Linked DNA regions of Homo sapiens: region 2 is linked to region 1. Evidence: promoter capture Hi-C in 16 types of primary human blood cells and fetal thymus (Javierre and others, 2016). All regions are on one chromosome and are shown on one strand. Each heading gives the region's core, a stretch centred on a gene start or on the middle of the fragment in contact. The rest is flanking DNA. Distances are from core to core; before and after follow the strand shown. Region 1 holds the start of NXN (nucleoredoxin). Region 2 overlaps ABR (ABR activator of RhoGEF and GTPase).

Region 1 (7,600 bases), core at 3,262-5,761:
TCTGTAGCCCAGAGCACACTGGCTAATTCTTCACAGGATGCCAAATGACTCCTTGGGCTTCTTATAACACCCACTACAATTATGATTCTGGGATCATTTCCATTGCAAATCCCCTCTTTCCACACCCCTTTAAAAGGCAGCTGTGATATTTGGCCTCTAACCAAGGCCTGCCGCATCCACAATTCTCTAAATTTTATTTATATTTCATGTGCAGTGTGTTCGAACTCTCCCTTCCCCAGGTGCCAGATGCTGGTTTGGACACACTCCAGTGGAAAGTGCTTTCCTGTTAAATAAGACAAGTCACACATGGAAGAAACCTCCTCTTTATATCAGACTTGCACCAAGTATACCAAAGTTAATACTCGAATATTTGCAATATTTGCAGCCCCCCAAATTCCCTCTTCACCGGCCTCCACACCAAATGCCTCTTGCCCTTTGGCTGCCGTAGCAGGTAAATGCTGATAGCCCTTTTACATTTCTGTAGTTTTCATAATTTTGAAAGTGTCAGAGTGTAGGACTCTAACACTCTTTCAGTAGTGCCTAACCCACGTACCCAGTGCATGGGCCTTTCAGATAAGATTTGGATGAGATGATAAAACATTGTAACCCATTTACAGGATTTCAAAAGATGTCTAGTAACTATGTGTGTGTGTGTGTGTGTGTGTGTGTGTGTGTATATATATACTTTTTTTTTTTTTTTGAGATGGAGTCTCTCCCTGTCGCCCAGGCTGGAGTGCAGTGGTGCGATCTCGGCTCACTGCAAACTCCGCCTCCCGGGTTCATGCCATTCTCCTGCCTCAGCCTCCCGAGTAGCTGGGACTACAGGTGCCCGCCACCTCGCCCGGCTAATTTTTTGTATTTTTAGTAGAGACGGGGTTTCACTGTGTTAGCCAGGATGGTCTCAATCTCCTGATCTCATGATCTGCCCGCCTCGGCCTCCCAAAGTATTGGGATTACAGGTGTGAGCCACCTCACCTGGCCTAGTAACTTAATATATATGATATGAGTAGCTTTAAATGTTTTCACCAAGGCCGGGTGGTGGCTCATGCCTGTAATCCCAGAACTTTGGGAGGCTGAGGCGGGTGGATCACTTGAGGCCAGGAGTTTGAGACCAGCCTGGCCAGTATGGTGAAAACCCCGTCTCTATTAAAGATACAAAAAATTGGCCAGGCTTGGTGGCGGACGCCTGTAATCCCAGCTACTCCAGAGGCTGAGGCAGAGAATTGCTTAAACCTGGAGGGGCGGAGCTTGCAGTGAGCCGAGATCGCGCCACTGCACTCCAGCTTGGGCAACAGAGCAAGACTCTGTTGCAAAAAACAAACAAACAAAACAAAACAAAAAAATTAGTGCATGCCAGTAATCCCAGCTATTTGGGAGGTGGTGCATGCCTGTAATCCCAGCTACTCGAGAGGCTGAGGCAGGAGAATCACTTGAATCTGGTAGGCAGAGGTTGCAGGAGCTGAGATCGCACCACTGCACTCCAGCCTGGGCAACAGAGTGAGACTCTGTCTGTAGGGACCAGCCCCACAGGGTCAGTGGGTCTCTCCCCGTGTGCGGAGACGAGAGAGTGTAGAAATAAAGACACAAGACAAAGAGATAAAAGGCAGCTGGGCCTGGGGAACCACTACCACCAAGTCGCGGAGACCGGTAGTGGTCCCAAATGCCAGGCTGCACTGATATTTATTGGATACAAGACAAAGGGGCAGGATAAGGAGAGTGAGCCATCTCCAATGATAGGTAAGGTCATGTGGGTCACGTGTCCACTGGACAGGGGGCCCTTCCCTGCCTGGCAGCCGAGGCAGAGAGAGAGAGGAGACAAAGAGAGAAACAGCTTCCACCATTATTAGAGACTTTTAGTACTTTCACTAATTTGCTACTGCTATCTAGAAGGCAGAGCCAGGTGTACAGAATGGAACATGAAGGCGGACTAGGAGCGTGACCACTGAAGCACAGCATCACAGGGAGACAGTTAGGCCTCCGGATAATTGTGGGCGAACCTGCAGTCAGGCCCTCCACAAGAGGTGGAGGAGTAGAGTCTTCTCTAAACTCCCCCCGGGGAAAGGGAGACTCCCTTTCCCGGTCTGCTAAGTAGCGGGTGTTTTTCCTTGACACTTACGCTACCGCTACACCACAGTCCGCCTGGCCACGGGTGTCTTCCCAGACGCTGGTGTTACCGCTAGACCAAGGAGCCCTCTGGTAGCCCTGTCTGGGCATAACAGAAGGCTCGCACTCTTGTCTTCTGGTCACTCCTCACTATGTCCCCTCAGCTCCTATCTCTGTATGGCCTGGTTTTCCCTAGATTATGATTATAGAGCGAGGATCATTATAATATGGGAATAAAGAGTAATTGCTACAAACTAATGATTAATGATATTCATATATAAGCCTATCTAAGATCTATATCTGGTATAACTATTCTTATTTTATATTTTATTACACTGGAACGGCTTGTGTCCTCGGTCTCTTGCCTCAGCGCCTGGGTGGCCTGCCGCCCACACTGTCTCAAAATAAATAAATAAATAAATAAATAAATAAATAAAGTTTTCACTAAAAAGTGATGCTTTCTGTGTGTGTTTTATAATATTGTCCCTACAGTGGCACAGACTTTCAGCATGAAAGTCTCCTGAGAATTAAGGTGGAATTCGACTTTGCAGTAGGATTCTAGGGTGTTCGAAGGCGGTCCTCCATCTAAGATCTTACCTGTGTCATTAGCAATACCAGCAGGTGACTAAGGAAGTGGATATAACTTGTAGAGACGCCAGTCCACTTTCCGCTCCCATCTCCACCTCTCCCAATTGTTTTATATGGTAACATTTCACCAAGCTGGAACCCTGCACCATTCCTTATTCTACCCTAGAAAAACGGAGAACCTTCGATGTGAACACTTACGTTTTGTGCCAAAAGCTTGAAGTTCTATTCTGAGGTTTAAATTAGCTCCCGCAAAGCGTCCTATCATTTGTGTATGTGGAAAGCTGCTGTAAAATAAAAGCATTGTGCCTGGTGTCCCGGCAGTGTCTTTTCACAAATGGAGTTTGGTCGGCCTCATTTTTCACTCTTTCCATTAGGTGGCGATGGATGCACAGGAAATATCCTCCGAAGCGGCGGTGGAAGCTCTGAGAGGGGCGGGTTTTCAGCTTTTATTTTTTTGCTTTCGCTGAGTCGTCAGTAGCTGATCCACACCGGCGGCCTGTTACTGTGGCTGGGCCCGGATCTGCACCTGCTTCGTGCACCAGTGGGTTGGGTTGGGGGGAGGCGCTGCGTGGCCAGAGTACTCGCCACGGACCACCTGTTTTTTTGTTTTTTTTGAGACGGAGTCTTGCTCTGTTGCCCAGGCTGGAGTGCAATGGAGCGATCTCGGCTCACTGCAGCCTCCGTCTCCCGGCTTCACGCCATTCTCCTACCTCAGCCTCCTGAGTTGCTCGGATTACAGGTGCCTGCCACTACACCCCGCTAATTTTTGTATTTTTAGTAGAGGCGGGGGGGGGGTGTCACCATATTGGCCAGGCTGGTCTCGAACTCCTGACCTTGTGATCCACCCACCTCGGCCTCCCAAAGTGCTGGGAATTCAGGCGTGAGCCACCGCGCCCGGCCCAGACCACCTGTTTAATCCAGCTTCTCCCTAAGCATTGGGGAGCATCCTGCCAGCTGGTAGGAAAAAAAAAATCTCTAGAAATGTTCTCAACTATCCATAGACTTGACATGAGGATGGAGCGGATTCAGGAGCGCGGCCAGCATTGGTCTGGAGGCCCCGCGGCGTCCTTTGCATCCATTTGTGGGGCTGGAAGACAGATTCGCTGGGGGGAGAGGCCCCGGCGACCCCTGGACGGAAATCCCACACTGAGACCTGGCACCCTAACCAGACCCCACCAGAAGCTGCGAGGGCGTCCTCGGCCCCCTTAGAACAGCTTGGAACACACAGAGGAGTCAGTGTCCAGCCAGGCCCGGCCTGATGCAGTGAGGACGGCGGGTCCTATAAGCATCTCAGGGTCAGTGGGGCCCGGAGCGGCCTAAGGGTCAGGCTTCGTGCAGGGAGAGGAGGAGGGAAAGGCCGGGGAGGAACAGGAAGAGGGTGAAGAGCTCCGCGGGGAGGGGGCGGGATCCCTGGAGGTCTGGAGGGAATTTAGAACTGGGGAGGAGAGAAAATGCGGGCCGGGCTGCAGCCCGGGAAAGCGCCGGCTCAGCGGGCCCTTCTCCTTTCTTCACTTCGGCCGTGGGCTTTCCAGGGAGAGTGCGGCGTTTCGGGTCCGGCTTCTCGCCCAAGCAGTCACCCCGCGCACCGCGGCCGGCAGCTGCGGACCCCGCCTGGGCGGAGAGCTCTGGCCACCGCCGGCCGCAAACGGGGCGTGGCGAGGGCGGAGGGGGCGTGGCGAGGGCGGGCGGAGGGGCGTGGCGAGGGCAGCCGAAGGGGCGTGGCGCGGGCCGCGGAGGGGGCGTGGCAGGGCGGGGGAAGGGGCGTGGCGCGGGCAGGCGGAGGGGGCGTGGCGTGGGCGGCCCTACTGGGCCGGGCTCTGCTCTCCCCAGCGCCTGCCGCCGACGCCGCCGCCTCCTCCCGCCGCGCGGACCGTGGAGCGGGGTCGCAGCCGCCTGCCCGCCCTGCGGTGGGCCAGGATGTCGGGCTTCCTGGAGGAGCTGCTCGGCGAGAAGCTGGTGACGGGCGGCGGCGAGGAGGTGGACGTGCACTCGCTGGGCGCCCGCGGCATCTCGCTGCTGGGTCTCTACTTCGGCTGCAGCCTCAGCGCCCCCTGCGCGCAGCTCAGCGCCAGCCTGGCCGCCTTCTACGGGCGCCTGCGGGGGGACGCGGCGGCCGGGCCGGGGCCGGGAGCGGGGGCCGGGGCGGCGGCGGAGCCCGAGCCGCGGCGGCGCCTGGAGATCGTCTTCGTGTCCTCGGACCAGGACCAGCGGCAGTGGCAGGACTTCGTGCGGGACATGCCGTGGCTGGCGCTGCCCTACAAGGAGAAGCACAGGAAGGTGAGCGGCGCGGGCCTCGCCGGCCCCTGCCCGCCCCCCACGCCCGTTACCCCTGCCCGCCCCCCACGCCCGTTACCCCTGCCCTCCGCCAACCCCGTTGTCCCCCTGCCCGCCCTCCACCCCCCGACCCCTGCCCCCAGTCCCCCGCCCCCCGACCCACTGTCCTCTCCCCGCCCCCCACCCCGCCGTCCCCGCCTCTGCCCCCCCCCCTTCCGCGCTGTGCCCGCACCCTCATCCCAGGACCCCTCTTTGGTTCGAGTGCTGCGCTGCGCCCGCCCTGGAAAGTTGGACCCCCCTCGGCCCCCGGGATCCCGGCTCGAGCCCCTCCGTCCGCACACGCTGGGAGCCTCGGGTGGGGGCGGCTGCGCTCGGGGATCCCGGTTCCGCGACCCCTTCACCCGCGAGCAGAGGCGCCAGGCCCTTCCTGCCTCCGCCGCCGACCCCCGCGGATTCCCACAGTGGGGAGGGGAGGGGAGGGGAGGGCGCACGCCCCCCGCCCGTGGCGCCCAAACCAGCGCGTTTCCTTTCTTTCCGGGAGAAACCTGCCTTCCCGGAGCCCCTTCCCCGGGGACCGGGGACCTGGGGGCCGAGGCCGAGGTCAGGAGAGGCGGCCGGTGACCGTGGCCGTGGCTGTGGCCGAGAAGGGCGCTCACGGCTCCGTCTCCCGCCCCCGCCTCCCCCGCCCCAGGCTGAGTTCGCGGCCACCGGGGAGCTTTGCATTGTCTGGCCGTCCAGCCTCCTCCCCAGACGCCTCCCGGGCGCGGGAACAGCCCGGGCTGTGCAGAGCTCAGCTGCGTGGTGGCCCCTGTGGTCCCGGGGTCTTCGAGTTAAGGGCTGAGCTGACCCCATCGATGCACATTGACTGGAAGAAGGAGGATTTGGGGAAATGGATACTTTGCTGTCAACTTCTCGTGTCTCCCAGTTTGCTGCCGAGTTGAGTTTGGGTTTCTGAGTGTGTCCCTTGGGTGAGGATGTCTGTCTCTGTGATAATAAAGCACATCCAGGACATTTTGTAATGAATGGAGTCAGAAAAAGTTTTGGAGCGCTGTTGCTTCGTGAGTGTATATGATGCAACGTGTGAATCCAGCCCCTTTCCCTTTTTGAGGAAAGCCTGTTTCTGGAGTGGACAGAAGGGCTATTCTGGGGGCGTTTAGTTTCCTCTGGGGAGCATGGCGAGGCGTGCCACGTGTTCCTTTTATATGTGCAGAATCTTGTTGAGAAGCATGATTTAGATTTACTGGGAGCAAAAGGCTTACACTGTGACCCCAAATGTCTTGAGTAAATCATCCATCCCGAAGCAGTGGGAGGTAGAGATTCGAGATTTAAAGTATGAAATACAGTTGATCCGATGCAGTTTGTAAATTTCATATTGGGAAAACATAGGTTCACTAACCACTCAGAGGCAAGAGTTGGCATTTTTACTGCTTTTTAGGTTATTTTGCCCATTTTGATTGACATGCTTGATATAGTATGAATATGCATGGCCAGTACTTTTTGATTCAAAATACGAGAATCCTTTGTTTTCCTTGGTGGTGGTTTTTGTGATACGTTCGTGGAGAAATAATGTTCAGAAAGGGATTTGCCAAAAAACATTTTCATTGTTACGGCAAGTTTCTGTTGTAGACTAAAGTCTACTTAAAATAATGTCCTTATCCGGCAATACAAATGATTTCTAGCTTTTGAAAACATAGAATTATGGTAAAATGTTACAGGCTTAACAGCCTATTGTTGTGTTTTTTACTGAAGAGGAAATACATTTTTTGGATAGTAAAAATATGGAGCAAACAGATGTTTTGCAAATGCTTAGAGCTTTTTCCGAAAAAGGAGAATATTTGATAGGACATGGGCCATGGCTGGCTCTCTATACCCTGGACAGGCTCTTTGCATGACAAAAAGTATTCTGCGGCCCTAGCCTGGACCTGCTGATTCCTCCATGATGAGAACCTGGATGACACAGGGCAGACTCTCATTTGAAAATACCGTTGAGAGTGCTGGACGTGCCCAAACCCTGGTGCGTTAGCATCTTAAACATTTTATTTTTTGGCCCAGAGTTTTTCTGACTCACATCCTATACTTTATTCTCTAAAACCAGTCCAGTTTTCAAGGAGGTAGTTTCTTTCCTTGGTCGTGAACAAACCACTCAAGATCTTTCTCGGGGATATATACCAGGTAAAAAGACTCCAGCTGTCCTTCTTATGGAACACATACTCTTGGAAATTACAAAAGCTACGTGCTGATTTTAAAAGGAATTATTGCCGGGTGCGGTGGCTCATGCCTGTTATCCCAGCACTTTGGAAGGCTGAGGTGGGCGGATCACCTGAGGTCGGGAGTTCCAGACCAGCCTGACCAACATGGAGAAACCCCGTCTCTACTAAAAATACAAAATTAGCCAGACCTGGTGGCGCATGCCTCTAGTCCCAGCTACTAGGGAGGCTGAGGCAGGAGAATCGCTTGAACCTGGGAGGCGGAGGTTGCGGTGAGCCGAGATCGCACCATTGCACCCCAGTCTGGGCAACAAGAGCGAAACTCTGTCTCAAAAAAAAAAAAAAAGGAATTATTTTCCCCCTTGAAACCAAAGAGATGTGGAACAAATGCCTTTTCTGTAACTGAGTTTTTGTCTCATTTGAAGTTA
Region 2 (6,806 bases), core at 132-2,631, 75 kb before region 1:
GGGGTTTTGAGCAGTGGGGAGCTGTGATCAGGGCTGGGAACTGACCGGAGTGGGTGTATTCTAGCTGCCTGTGTGCTGGGAAAGGGTCCACTTTGTGAACGGGGTCCTGAAGGCAAGCTTTCCTCGACATAAATCATTAGCAGAATGATTTATCATATTGGTCAGTTTTCAGTGCCAGGATAGGCAGGATTTGGAGGGAGAGACAGTACCCATGGGGAATGGTACTAAGTCCCTGGGCCAGGATGGTGGGTGTGCTGGACCCCCCCAGGCTGAGTGGAGGAGAGAAGGACCCCCTAGCCCTACCCCGGGCAGCTCACATATAAGGCCGCCGTGGCCTTCGGAAACTTTTTCATCTGGCCACCAGGTGGTGATGTTGGACCAAGACTCAGCTGAGTCTCATACCCCGTCTGCCTCCCGCCGGCCTGGGGTGGAGGCTGAGGGGATCCGCTGACCACCCTCTGCCCTGGGGGCTTTTCTCTCTTGCAGACGATGAGTCTCCAGGACTCTATGGCTTCCTTCATGTCATCGTCCACTCTGCCAAGGGATTTAAGCAATCAGCCAGTAAGTGCCCTGGCCAGGACGAGGTTGGGTGGGCCATTGTGGATTCTGCACTGCTCTGCCCAGGATGGGGCCCTGCCAGCACGCCTTTAGACATGGGGCATTCCCCTGGAGGCCAGAAACCAGCTCCTCTTGGCAGGGAGGTCACCCCTGGCCTTTGTCTCCAAAGTCCTCTTTCTCAAGCCCTCCCTGAAGCTGTCTGAAACCTAGGGGCCGGGCGCGGTGGCTCACCCCTGTAATCCCAGCACTTTGGGAGGCCCAGGCGGGCGGATCACGAGGTCAGGAGTTCGAGACCATCCGGGCCAACATGGTGAAACCCCGTCTCTACTAAAAATACTAAAATTAGCGTGGGCATGGCGGTGGACGCCTGTAGTCCCAGCTACTTGGGAGGCTGAGGCCAGAGAATCCCTTGAACCCGGGAGGCGGAGGTTGCTGTGAGCTGAGATCATGGCATTGCACTCCACCCTGGGCGACAGAGCGAGAATCCGTCTCAAAAAAAAAAAAAAGAAACCGAGTGCGACAAACACGTGGACTCCAACTTCATATCTGAGGGCGACAAACACGTGGACTCCAACTTCATATCTGCCCATGACAAGCTGTGTGACCTTGGGCAAGTTTCTTAACCTCTCTGGGCCTCCACTAAAAGGCAGTCACGCTTGTGAATTTTGACCCGAGAGCAGGCTGGGATATGATCGTGTGTGTGCAACGCTGGTGTGCTGCCACGCTCATCGCTTTTTCTCCCCTTCCCCCTTGTGGGTTCCTCATACTAAATCTGTTTTTAGTGTCTCACAAAGTAGGATTGCACTTTTTAATTTTTAAAAAATTTTTTTTTAGAGACAGGTTCTCCCCATGTTGGCCAGGCTGGTCTTGAACTCCTGGGCTCAAGCCATCCTCCCACCTCAGCCTCCCAAAGTGCTGAGATTACAGGCGTGAGCTGCTGCGCCCGGCCTGGTTGCGCTTTTTATCTACCTGTTATCCACACGGGAATCTGTGAGTCAGTTAGACAGCTAATAGTTTCTACCCATTTGCCAGAGGAGGTAACCGAGTCACAGAGAGGAGAAAAGACTTAACATCACAGAGGATCAGAAACCCTGACTCTCTCCCTCTCCACCTGCCCCTCCCACTCCCTGCTCTTCACTGGCAGGTGGGGTCTGCCCTCACCCCTCCCTGCAGCGCCCCACACAGAGGTGACTCCCCGGGCCGTTAGAGCAGCCTTTCCCAGGAAGCCTCCCTGAGTTCCTGGGGGCAAACTGGCCTCCCTTCTTTGTCCCTTCTTTGTGCCCACATCCCCTCAGGTTCCTTGTGCCCCCATCCCCTCAGGTTCCTTGTGCCCCCATCCCCTGAGGTTCCTTGTGCCCCCATCCCCTCAGGTTCCTTGTGCCCCCATCCCCTGAGGTTCCTTGTGCCCACATCCCCTGAGGTTCCTTGTGCCCCCATCCCCTCAGGTTCCTTGTGCCCCCATCCCCTCAGGTTCTTTGTGCCCCCGTCCCCTCAGGTTCTTTGTGCCCCCATCCCCTGAGGTTCCTTGTATCCCCATCCCTTTGAGGTTCCTTGTGCCCCCATCCCCTGAGGTTCCTTGTGCCCCCATCCTGCTCAGGGCAAGCTGGTTATGGCACCTGTCATGCTGTTTTGTCACTTAACAATTTGCGTCTCCCACTGTGAGTTCTCTGAGGGCGGGAACCAGGTCTCCTTTACCCTGGGATGCATGGGAGCTCAGAAATGTGGAATGAAGTCGTTAATTTACACAGCACCTACCGTGCACCTGGAGAAGGTGAGAACATGGCTGGCGTGTGGACGTACTCACATGTGCAAAGCCTGTGGCGTGTTCAGAGCCTCTCAGTCTCACGGTCCGCTCTGAGCCTCCGGCATCCCGCCGAGGTCACGGAAACCATCCCTGTTTTACACACGAGGACGCCGAGGCTCGGAGGGGCTCAAGGTTCCTTCCTGGAGTCACACAGTAGCAGGTGGTGCAGCAGAATCCACGTCTTCCGGCACCAGAGCCGGAGCTCTAACCTTTTGGGCACTTCTCGATGTCTGGCCGGGAACACCACACGGTCCCTCAGGCTGCTTGTTACCGTGGAAGCTTCCTGAACTCTCTCCAGACCCACAGACCTCCCTTCTTGGGGGCTGCCGCTGAGGAGCTTCTGGCTAGTGAGCTCTGAAGCACTGTCCCACCCATGTCTGGACCAGGCGCCACCACTCCATGTCCCCAGATGCCGCCCCTCCCTCTCCTGCTTCCCGTTGGCCGGGAGGTCCTCGCCTCAGGGAGCCGACCCGTGGCCTCCCAGCCTGGGCGGGTGTCAGAGCCGGCTGAGCTGCTCCAAAATCTCTCTTTACCCCCAGATTATCCTCACTCCCTTCGCCGCCGCCACCCCTGACCCACTCATATGTCTGTTCTCACTCAGAGGTGAGGCCCTGTGTCTTCAGCCGTGGTAAACTCAGGACCTCTGGACAGGCAGGCCCAGGGTGTAGGCACCATGACTTTTCCTGCTGTGCAGACAGGAACCTGGGGAGAGAAGGGAGGTGATCTGTGCAGAGCTGGGGTGTGGACCCAGATGGTCTGACTCCGGAACCCTCGCTCTGACCCTGTGAGCCGTCCCCAGCTCCTTCCGGAACCCTCCCTCTGACCCTGTGAACCCTCCCCCAGCCCGTTCCGGAACCCTCCCTCTGACCCTGTGAGCCCTCCCCCAGCCCCTTCTCGAACCCTCCCTCTGACCCTGTGAACCCTCCCCCAGCCCCTTCCGGAACCCTCCCTCTGACCCTGTGAACCCTCCCCCAGCCCCTTCCGGAACCCTCCCTCTGACCCTGTGAGCCCTCCCCCAGCCCCTTCCGGAACCCTCCCTCTGACCCTGTGACCCCTCCCCCAGCCCCTTCCGGAACCCTCCCTCTGACCCTGTGACCCCTCCCCCAGCCCCTTCCGGAACCCTCCCTCTGACCCTGTGACCCCTCCCCCAGCCCCTTCCGGAACCCTCCCTCTGACCCTGTGAACCCTCCCCCAGCCCCTTCCGGAACCCTCCCTCTGACCCTGTGAGCCCTCCCCCAGCCCCTTCCGGAACCCTCGCTCTGACCCTGTGACCCCTCCCCCAGCCCCTTCCGGAACCCTCCCTCTGACCCTGTGAGCCCTCCCCCAGCCCCTTCCTGAACCCTCCCTCTGACCCTGTGACCCCTCCCCCAGCCCCTTCCGGAACCCTCCCTCTGACCCTGTGAACCCTCCCCCAGCCCCTTCCGGAACCCTCCCTCTGACCCTGTGAACCCTCCCCCAGCCCCTTCCGGAACCCTCCCTCTGACCCTGTGAGCCGTCCCCCAGCCCCTTCCGGAACCCTCCCTCTGACCCTGTGAACCCTCCCCCAGCCCCTTCCGGAACCCTCCCTCTGACCCTGTGACCCCTCCCCCAGCCCCTTCCGGAACCCTCCCTCTGACCCTGTGACCCCTCCCCCAGCCCCTTCCGGAACCCTCCCTCTGACCCTGTGACCCCTCCCCCAGCCCCTTCCGGCACCCTCCCTCTGACCCTGTGAACCCTCCCCCAGCCCCTTCCGGAACCCTCCCTCTGACCCTGTGAGCCCTCCCCCAGCCCCTTCCGGAACCCTCCCTCTGACCCTGTGAACCCTCCCCCAGCCCCTTCCGGAACCCTCCCTCTGACCCTGTGAGCCCTCCCCCAGCCCCTTCCGGAACCCTCCCTCTGACCCTGTGAGCCCTCCCCAGCCCCTCGAGGAGGGGCTCACACCGAGATCAATCCATGATGACAGCACTTCATGGCCCGTCTCAAACACACAGGCCCACTCCCTGGTCTGGCCCAGGCTGGGGTGCTCAGGGCCTCTGTGTTGTTCACCTGCAAATCCCCAGCCCCGTTCTGTGTGTTCTGAGGCCCACCTGGGTCTTCTTTCTGTTGCTCCAGCTGGAGGCTTCTTGGGGTAGCTGCACTGTCCTTTCTGCAGGAAAGCTGGTTTTTTTGGTTTTTTTTTTTTTGAGAAAGAGTCACTTGGTCGCCCAGGCTGGAGTGCAGTGGTGCCATCTCAGCTCACTGCAACTTCCACACCCCAGGTTCAAGCGATTGTCCTGCCTCAGCCTCCCGAGTAGCTGGGACTACAGGCATGTGCCACCACGCCGGGCTCACTTTTGTATTTTTAGTAGAGATGGGGTTTCACCATGTTGGTCAGGCTGGTCTCAAACTCCTGACCTCAGGTGATCTGCCCACCTTGGCCTCCCAAAGTGCTGGGATTTACAGGCGTGAGCCACCTTGCCCGGCCAGGAAAGCTGTTCTGATGGAGAATGGCCCAGCTGGGCAGCTGCAGGGGCTAAGTGGAGTAAGCCACCTGCACTGTATGCCCGCACTGTGACCTCTGACGTTGTTTCACGCTGCAGAGGGTTGGCCATAGTGTCCCAAAGGCACCTCCCACACCACCTCTGGTACCCTGGGAACAACCTCGGCATCTCCCTGGAGGTGGGAGGACTGCTGGGGTCCGAGCCCAGGGCGGGTGTGGGTTTGCAGAGGGCCTGGGGTCCGTGCCGGTGCTGTGGCCTCAGCAGTTGGGTCCCAAGGTAGATTTTCAGCCTGAAGGCCAGGGTGGAAGATGGAAATGCCGGGGAAAGCCCCCGGCCCTGCCCTCCCGCCCCAGCCCTCCACTGCCTTGTTACCTGGAGCGCTTGGTGGTGGTGGGAGCCTCGTTCACCGTGTGCCAGCTGGGTTCCCAGCCCTGTTCTTGGTACTGCGGGTACACCGGCAGGCAGGAAAACCCAGGCTTCTCTCCACATGGTGTTTACGTCGTGGGGGGAGAGAGACTAGGGACGCACGAGTAGAGAAGATCCCTTTGGTTTATGTTAAGTGCAGCGGAGGAAACCACAGCACCCTGGGCTTGGGGATGTGGGCGTTGTTGGTCGTCACCGCGGCAGGGGATGCTCCGAGCATTCAGGACCCAGAGGCAGGGCTGCTAAACGCCTCCCACCCCAAATGCCGCTGTTGAGGCCTGGGCACCCATGTTACGGGGAGAGGTGGCTCCAGGGCGGTCAGTGAAGAGTTTGTGGTGTCGTCTCCATGGTGAGGAAGATGTGGAGACGGAACAGTCAAGGGCCCTTTAGAGGGAGGAGGAGGCCAGAGTGTGGGGAGGGCCGAGGTGGGAAGGGCAGAGTGTGGGGAGGGCCGAGGTGGGAAGGGCAGAGTGTGGGGAGGGCTGAGGTAGGAAGGGCAGAGTGTGGGGTGAGCCGAGGTGGGGAGGGCTGAGCCCCTAAGAAGGGGGCAGGGGAGAAGCCAGATGGTCCCGGGCTTCAGGGAGGAGAGAGCCAAGATGCCATCCGTGGGGACGTTGGAAAGGACAGATGCGATGTCCCCCTCCATCCTGAGTGCCGCCCCAGCTGCCCCACCCTGGCCCCACTCACTCAGTATCTCCGTCTGTCCTTCCCCCACAGACCTGTACTGTACCCTGGAGGTGGATTCCTTCGGCTATTTTGTCAGCAAAGCCAAAACCAGGGTGTTCCGGGACACAGCGGAGCCCAAGTGGGATGAGGTGAGTGGCAGGGGCTGGCATCTCTGTGGGGACCCCACCACCCCGTGCTCGTGGCTTGTCTGCTGGGGACGGCCAGCCCATTGGTTGGACCAGCTATGTCTGCACCCCCCTTTCTGCTCCCTGCTCCTCTGGCTTCTGATCGCGGTGTGTGTCTGGGTGTCAGACCCTGTGGTGTCAGCTCAGGCCCCCAGACTCCAGGGGTGATGGGAGGCCTCTGGGAGCTCCAGAAAATCTGACGTGTCCTTCGTGGGCCGTGCTTACTCCCTCCTCCTTGCAAAGCTGAGGCACGCACCTGCCGGAAAGCCAGGCCTCCCAGCTTCGGAGGTTCAGGGCCCTTTGTCCCATCTTTCCCCAGGAGTTTGAGATCGAGCTGGAGGGCTCCCAGTCCCTGAGGATCCTGTGCTATGAGAAGTGCTATGACAAGACCAAGGTCAACAAGGACAACAATGAGATCGTGGACAAGATCATGGGCAAAGGACAGATCCAGGTGAGGCCAGGGCGCCGGGGCGAGGCTGAGGGAGCCTCCAGGAGGTGGTTCCAGTTGAAAAGGAATTCTGGTCAAGGAGCCTGCTCTTTCGTGATTTTGGTTCCAAGCTGGTTGGAGGAAAGTTCCCAGGAGGTGGTTCTCCCCTCCCTGCTAGAGGTGGCTGCCTGTTGTGGCCCCGGAAGCCCAGGCGTGTGCGTGGCTCCTCAGGTGGGTCATCTGCGCTTCTGCAAGATGGAAACAACCAGCTTTGTTTTCACACG

The links. The method cuts DNA at HindIII sites, captures the fragments that hold promoters and counts their contacts. A CHiCAGO score of 5 or more calls a contact.
Region 2: a contact is called between a fragment that was not itself captured here and the fragment with the promoter of NXN in region 1, in 2 of 17 cell types (megakaryocytes and endothelial precursors). The highest score is 9.3, in megakaryocytes.

The regions. Positions count from the first base shown.
Region 1 is chr17:976,687-984,286 of GRCh38, reverse strand. It overlaps NXN (nucleoredoxin), which reads left to right and starts at 4,511. Exons shown (of 8, transcript NM_022463.5): 1 at 4,511-4,968. The coding sequence starts at 4,609. RefSeq lists enhancers at 2,944-3,238, 4,663-5,598. The HindIII fragment of the contact is 5,276 bases long and covers 2,907-7,600 here.
Region 2 is chr17:1,049,790-1,056,595 of GRCh38, reverse strand. ABR (ABR activator of RhoGEF and GTPase) reads left to right here. Exons shown (of 23, transcript NM_021962.5): 14 at 487-561; 15 at 5,962-6,059; 16 at 6,415-6,546. Among named protein-coding and RNA genes, the nearest start is that of MIR3183, 31 kb to the right of the region's middle. The HindIII fragment of the contact is 2,524 bases long and covers 120-2,643 here.